Linked DNA regions of Homo sapiens: region 1 is linked to region 2. The links are contacts of gene promoters, found by promoter capture Hi-C in human tissues and cell types (Jung and others, 2019). All regions are on one chromosome and are shown on one strand. Each heading gives the region's core, a stretch centred on a gene start or on the middle of the fragment in contact. The rest is flanking DNA. Distances are from core to core; before and after follow the strand shown.

The links. The method cuts DNA at HindIII sites, captures the fragments that hold promoters and counts their contacts. A contact is called where the count stands out against the background at its distance.
Region 1: a fragment that was not itself captured here is called in contact with the fragment with the promoter of CACNG3 in region 2 in 1 of the 25 tissues and cell types used here (dorsolateral prefrontal cortex).

The regions. Positions count from the first base shown.
Region 1 is chr16:24,514,457-24,517,593 of GRCh38, forward strand. No RefSeq gene overlaps it. Among named protein-coding and RNA genes, the nearest start is that of RBBP6, 24 kb to the right of the region's middle. RefSeq lists an enhancer at 2,552-2,846. The HindIII fragment of the contact is 7,482 bases long and covers 1-3,137 here.
Region 2 is chr16:24,254,730-24,257,989 of GRCh38, forward strand. CACNG3 (calcium voltage-gated channel auxiliary subunit gamma 3) reads left to right here and starts at 1,606. Exons shown (of 4, transcript NM_006539.4): 1 at 1,606-2,236. The coding sequence starts at 2,026. RefSeq lists an enhancer at 1,354-2,081. The HindIII fragment of the contact is 9,462 bases long and covers 1-2,880 here.

The sequences.
Region 1 (3,137 bases), core at 30-2,529, 260 kb after region 2:
GACCCACCAAGTCTTTAGCTTGAAAAGTACAGCAGAAATCCGTAGTACAGTGGAAACAGCACCTTCAGGGTCAGTCCTGGGCAGGTCCAAAGTTCAATTAAGTTACAGAAAGATGTGACCCAGACCTACATGTTCCCTGCCTCATTGCTCTGATGCCTTCCTCAGCTCATGCTTACATCTTCATGAAGGGTTTCTTTTTTTTTTCTGAGACAGAGTCTCGCTCTATCGCCCAGGCTGGAGTGCAGTAGCGCGATCTCGGCTCACTGCAAGCTCCGCCTCCCGGGTTCATGCCATTCTCCTGCCTCAGCCTCCCGAGTAGCTGGGACTACAGGCACCCACCACTACTCCTGGCTAATTTTTTTTTTTTATTTTTAGTAGAGACGGGGTTTCACCATGTTAGCCAGGATGGTCTCGATCTCCTGACCTCGTGATCCACCCACCTTGGCCTCTCAAAGTGTTGGGATTACAGGTGTGGGCCACCGCGCCCGGCCAAGGGTTTCTTATGTACAGTTGATGGAGAAGGAGAGACCCCAAGCCAAGTTTATGCACGGGATGTCTCCTCTGTTGGTGAGAGCTGAAGATGTCCTGCTGCTACACTAGACTCCCAGGCAGGGGCAGCTTAGGAAGGCTGGACAAGCTTTGGATGGTATACCCGGCCATCGACTTTGTGAGAAGAGAGAAGTTGCCTGACATGAGCATATATGCAGACATCTTGGCAGTGGTGAATAGCTTAAATGGTTGGCAGGGAGCCTTGAAGGAGTGAGATTGGAAGACAGGAGAACCTGAAGCAGAAGTATGTAGATGGATTTGTGGGAGAGGTGCCAACTGTGTGGATCTTCAAGTCTCATGTCAATGCCCACCAGAGGGTATCTTCCAAAAGACAGCATTAAACAACTGGGCGGACAGGCTGACTGGTCCAGTGGAGGCCCGCCAGATTGTGTACCCAGCCGTAACTGTGTTGGCACAGTGGGTCCTTGAATAGACTAACCATGGTGGCACAGACGGAGGCTTGCTAAGAGCTCAATAACATGGGCTCCCTTTCACCAAGACTAATCTGCTGGCTGGGCGCAGTGGCTCATGCCTGTAATCCCAGCCCTTTGGGAGGCTGAGGAGGGCAGATTGCTTGAGCTCAGGAGCTCAAGACCAGCCCAGGTAACACAGCAAGATCCCGTCTCTAGTAAAAATAAAAATTAAAAAATCAGCTGGGCATGGTGACACACGCCTGTAGTCCCAGCTACTCAGGAGGCTGAAGTGGGAGGATCGCTTGAACCCAGGAAATCGAGGCTGTTGTAAGCTGTGATTGCACCACTGCACTACAGCCTGGATGACAGAATGAGACCCTGTTTCCAAAAAAAAAAAAAAAGGCCATATGTGGTGGCTCATGCCTGTAATCCCAGCACTTTAGGAGGCTGAGGCAGGCATATCACCTGAGGTCAGGAATTCGAGACCAGCCTGGCCAACATGGTGAAACCCAGTCTCTACTAAAAATACAAAAATTAGCTGGGTATGGTGGCGCACACCTGTAATCCCAGCTACTCAGGAGGCTGAGGCAGGAGAATCAGTTGAACCCGGGAGGTGGAGGTTGCAGTGAGCCGAGATCACACCACAGCACTTCAGCCTGGAAGACAAAGCAAGACTCCATCTAAAAAAAAAAATGGGGGCAACTTGGCCCCCCAAGGGACCATAGGCAATGTGTGGAGATATTTTTGGTTGTCATAATGGAGGAAGGGATGCTACTAGCATCTAGCATATAAAGACCCAAGCATGTAATTAAACATCTTACAACGCAAAGGACAGTCTCCCACAACAAAAGATTGTCCAGCCTCAAGGTTGAAGAACTATTAGACTAAAGCCTGTTGTGCCTTTTCTCTTTTTTCTTTCTTTTTTTTTTTTTTTGATGGAGTTTTGCTCTTGTCACCCAGGCTGGAATGCAATGGTGCGATCTCAGCTACTGCAACTTCTGCCTCCTGGGTTCAAGCGATTCTCCTGCCTCAGCCTCCTGAATAGCTGGGATTACAGGCGCCCACCACCACACCCAGCTAATTTTTTTGTATTTTTACTAGAGACAGGGTTTCACCATGTTGGTCAGGCTGATCTTGAACTCCTGACCTCAGGTGATCCACCAGCCTCAGTCTCCCAAAGTGCTGGGATTACAGGTGTGAGCTACCAGTCCCGGCTTTTTTCTTTTCTTTTCTTTTCTTTTTTTTTAAGACAGGGACTTGCTCTGTCACCCAGGCTGAAGTGCAGTGGTGTGATCATAGCTCACTGCAGCCTTGACCTCCTGGACTCAAGCAATCTTCCCACCTCAGCCTCCTGAGTAGCTGGGACTACAGGCACACGCCACCATCCCTGGCTAATTTTTTAATTTTTGTAGAGATGAGTCTCGCTATGTTGCTCAGGATAGTCTTGAACTCCTAGGCACAAGTGATCCTCCTGCTTCAGCCTCCCAATGTGCTGGGATTTCAGGCGTAAGCCACCCCACCTGGTCCTGTTGTGCTTCTCTGACGGCCAGTCCAGCCTTGTAATCATAACGGTGATATTGAAGGCAGATCTTCATCTTGTTCCCCGAGCGTGTGTCCATGCTGCGGGGATAAGAATGTGATTTATCTAAACTCTTGCCACACTAGGGAGTATTAATTTGTTTACCCTCTGCTGGAGGCCAGGTGCTGGTATCCAGTAGAGGTCCTCCCGCGGAAAAGAGCAGACCACGAAAACACAATCTCATGGGAGTCCACTAGGGGGCAGCCATCAACAGCATTCACTTGCTAAAGTCGCTTCAAATCAAATGAAACTAAAGCTGGAAATCCACGGGCACAGGGAAAACAGACCGTTATCTCACCCCTTATGCAAGAATGAACTCAAACTGGATTAAATATTTAAACATAAGATCTGAAACTGCAAAACCACTATAAGAAAATATAAGGGATCGAAAGGAACCAAATAGGCCCGGTGCTGTAATCCCAGCACTTTGGGAGGCCGAGGAGGGCGGATCACTTAAGGTCGGCAGTTCGAGGCCAGCCTGGCCAACGTGGTGAAACCTCTCTCTACTAAAAATGCAAAAATTAGCTGAACATGCCAAGGTGCATGCCCTTAGTCCCAGCTACTCAGGAGGCTGAGGTGGGAGGATCACTTGAACC
Region 2 (3,260 bases), core at 356-2,855:
CAATATATTCCTGCTACCCAGTCACCTGAATAGAAGTTCCCAGGCAGCCAGAGATGGCACCAGGGGAGTATGTTTGTCTGCGATTACCTCCCGTTATATTTCTGTCCAGCTAAATAACATTCAAACATGACAGTTGGTTGCGGACACATCTCAGGAACTGTGGAAACAACCCAAGCAACCTCATTTCCAACTATCTGACCTCTGGATATCAGTCCCAGGATGCCATAAGAAAAAAAATAATAAGGGCATTTCTGTGGGCTGTTTCTAGTCAACTCGGTGTGTGCCCATGCATATGCCGGAATACATAGTAATAAAAAGCTGGTTAAATGCTGGTCCTTTGCAATACTGGCTATTTCCAAGGAAGAGAGCTTTCAGGTGTGCAATGCCATTTGCCCTTTGGACTAACAAGCAAAGCAGACCTAACTTCACCTGCTTCATGGTCTCACTTAGATAACAATGTTAACAAATGATATCTCAGAGACCTTTGAACAAAATCTGACATTTTCAGTGACTCTCCCACCATGAATCCATCACCCCCTTCGATGTAGATATGTTAAAATGTATAAAAGGCATATTCAAAGGCCAAAATCTTATAGTCTTTTGCCCAAGGTCCCTAATATGTGTATGACAGAGTCTATGTATATTTAGCTTCTTCCATCTTTTAGGAATACATGATCATGTATATATGAACAGTTCCGGGTCTGATCTGAGCGGGTTGTCTTCGGTGTAAACCAGAGCTCCAGAGAAAGGAGGGTAGACATATTGGTTTGTTTGCTGGGGAACCAAATTGAGACAGACTCTACACAGATGTGATTGTGACAACACTTTTTGCCCGCCTAAGCGAGCCATAGAGCCGTCTCCAGAGCTGCCGGTGCCTTTAAGAAGACTCGGTCTTTCGGGTCTTCTTTTTCCCCAATGGGCTCCAGTGGTGCCCGCAGCAAAAGGCAAACTTGCCTGGCTCATGGGGTGAAAGGGAGGATTGAAGAATGCCGCGTTGGGTGGGTGCTGAGGGAGCGCCAGAGTGCGCTACGGGCTTCGCTCCCCTTCCCCTTTCCTTAACCCTTCCTAGAGCGGAGGAACCGGGTCGTGCTGCAGCGCCCAGGAGCCAGGGCGCTGACTGTCCTCGGCTCCAGAAACTTTGCGCGGAGAGTGGGCTTGACTGGGCAGAGCCGAGCCGGCTGGCTGACCCGGGAAGGAACGGGGGAAGGGCGGGGTGAGGGAAGAAAGACCCTTTAGCACCCCGGGTTTCTAGCCCGGGCGGCGGTGTGCAGCTGCATGAGGGAGCTGTCCCTTCGGCACCACGGACCTTAAAGCCTAGGCGTTAAGACGACGGAGGCGGGGCAACAGGCGGGGAGCTGTCCCTTCAGCACCACGGACCTTGGCGCCCCCAGGGAAACCAGCCGGCCCCCGCCCCAGGACTCTGTCTTTTCTCCAGTTTGAGCGGGGGTGTCGGGAGCAGGCGGAGAGCTTTCCTGCGAGGCTGTGGAAGCAGTGAACACTCTTCTCAGCGGCTCGCCTCCCAGCAGTGCTATTTTTTGCCATCCGCCCTCACCCCCAGCACACGCGCTCGCACACACACGCACGCACGCACACACACACACACACACACTCACACAGAGACCTCTCTGGGTTTCTTTGCCTTGAGTCTCCCGGGGCTGTGAGAAGCCAGGCGCATCTCAAACCGAGCTGGCAGCTCCAGGCTCCGGAGCCATGCCCTGCACGGACCCTCGTCTTTACCACGCTCCTGAGGAATGAAAGGAACCCAGGGACCCTCAGAAGGCAGCAGTGATGCGGACCAACCCCCCGGAGCCTGCACCCTTCCGAGGGCCATAGGCGACCCAGGGAACTGGAGAGAGCTCCAGAAAGGAAATCCCAGCTTTCCCAAAGTCCCTGTGGATGCTGACAAAAGGAGACCTGAATTTTTGGAAGAGCCTGTACTAGGTTACCCGGCTGCAGAGTGATTTTCCCCTCCGGCACTGACTCTCCCCCTCCAACCCCCAGCCGTCCAGAGTACCATGAAGAATTATGAGGATGTGTGACAGAGGTATCCAGATGTTGATCACCACTGTAGGAGCCTTTGCCGCTTTTAGTTTAATGACCATTGCAGTGGGCACGGACTACTGGTTATATTCCAGAGGTGTGTGCAGGACTAAATCTACAAGTGATAATGAAACCAGCAGGAAGAATGAAGAAGTAATGACCCATTCGGGGCTGTGGAGGACCTGCTGCCTAGAAGGTATTTACAATTTCCTCTCAATAGCTCTGAATAATCCAGTTCTGATATTCTGGTGGGTGTTTGGAGGAGATGGAAATGGTGATAAGGAAAGAAGAGAAGTTCAAATTATTGCTGAGAATGTGCAGGTGCCCAGACTCTGTTAACAGCAAGACTGACGCCATGTGGGTTAAAGGGGTTGGGTCTTGTTGATTGTTTTTAGTATAAGCTTCATGAGATGAGATTTTTGTCACACTCTAGGCAGCTTCTGCAGTTTAGAAAAGTCTTCAAATCCAAAATCCCTAGGCATATTGTCAACTGCTTGGATCTCTGGCTTGAGATGGGGTCTTTAACCCTGCTTAAATTGGATTTCGAAGGGAGGGGGAGGGAAGGGAGGAGAAGGGACAAGAGGAAAGAAGTGAGGGGGGAGAGAGAGAGAGAGAGAGAGAGAGAGAGAGAGAGAGAGAGAGAGAGAGAGAGAGAGAGATCCTGACCCGGTCTGGCACATTCTGAGCTATTTCATTATTTCTCAACATAGACTTATCAGTTTCTCCTGAGTTTGCTCTAACTAGATATTGTCATGAACTTCCACTGCCAATCAGTAACAGGGTAACATATGTAAACCCCTACTCCCACCCACACCCTATGCACACATTTTAAGAAAAAATCCTTATTGATACATGTTTTATTAGTTTGGATCACAACAAAACTGAAGTCTTGGTATTTTGTATCCACCTGTCTTCATTCCTAAATCATTCCCAAACCCCTAAAAAGGTATTTCCATGACATTTACAAAAGACTGATTCTCCAAGAATTGCAGTTCGTCATTTCTAGTTCTAAAAATTAGGGAGTAGTTATAACTTATAATGAAGAAGAAAGAGCAATTTAAAAATATAAAGCCCTTTTGTAGCCTATCACACTATTAAACTTGCTTTCACCACACCAGAAGTCACTCTCAGCACCAGTAGGCAATGCTTGGATATCACTGGGAGTAAATAGAAAGATAAGGAAGAAAATCAAAGCTCTTTGGAGCCTATGTGCCTGAGGG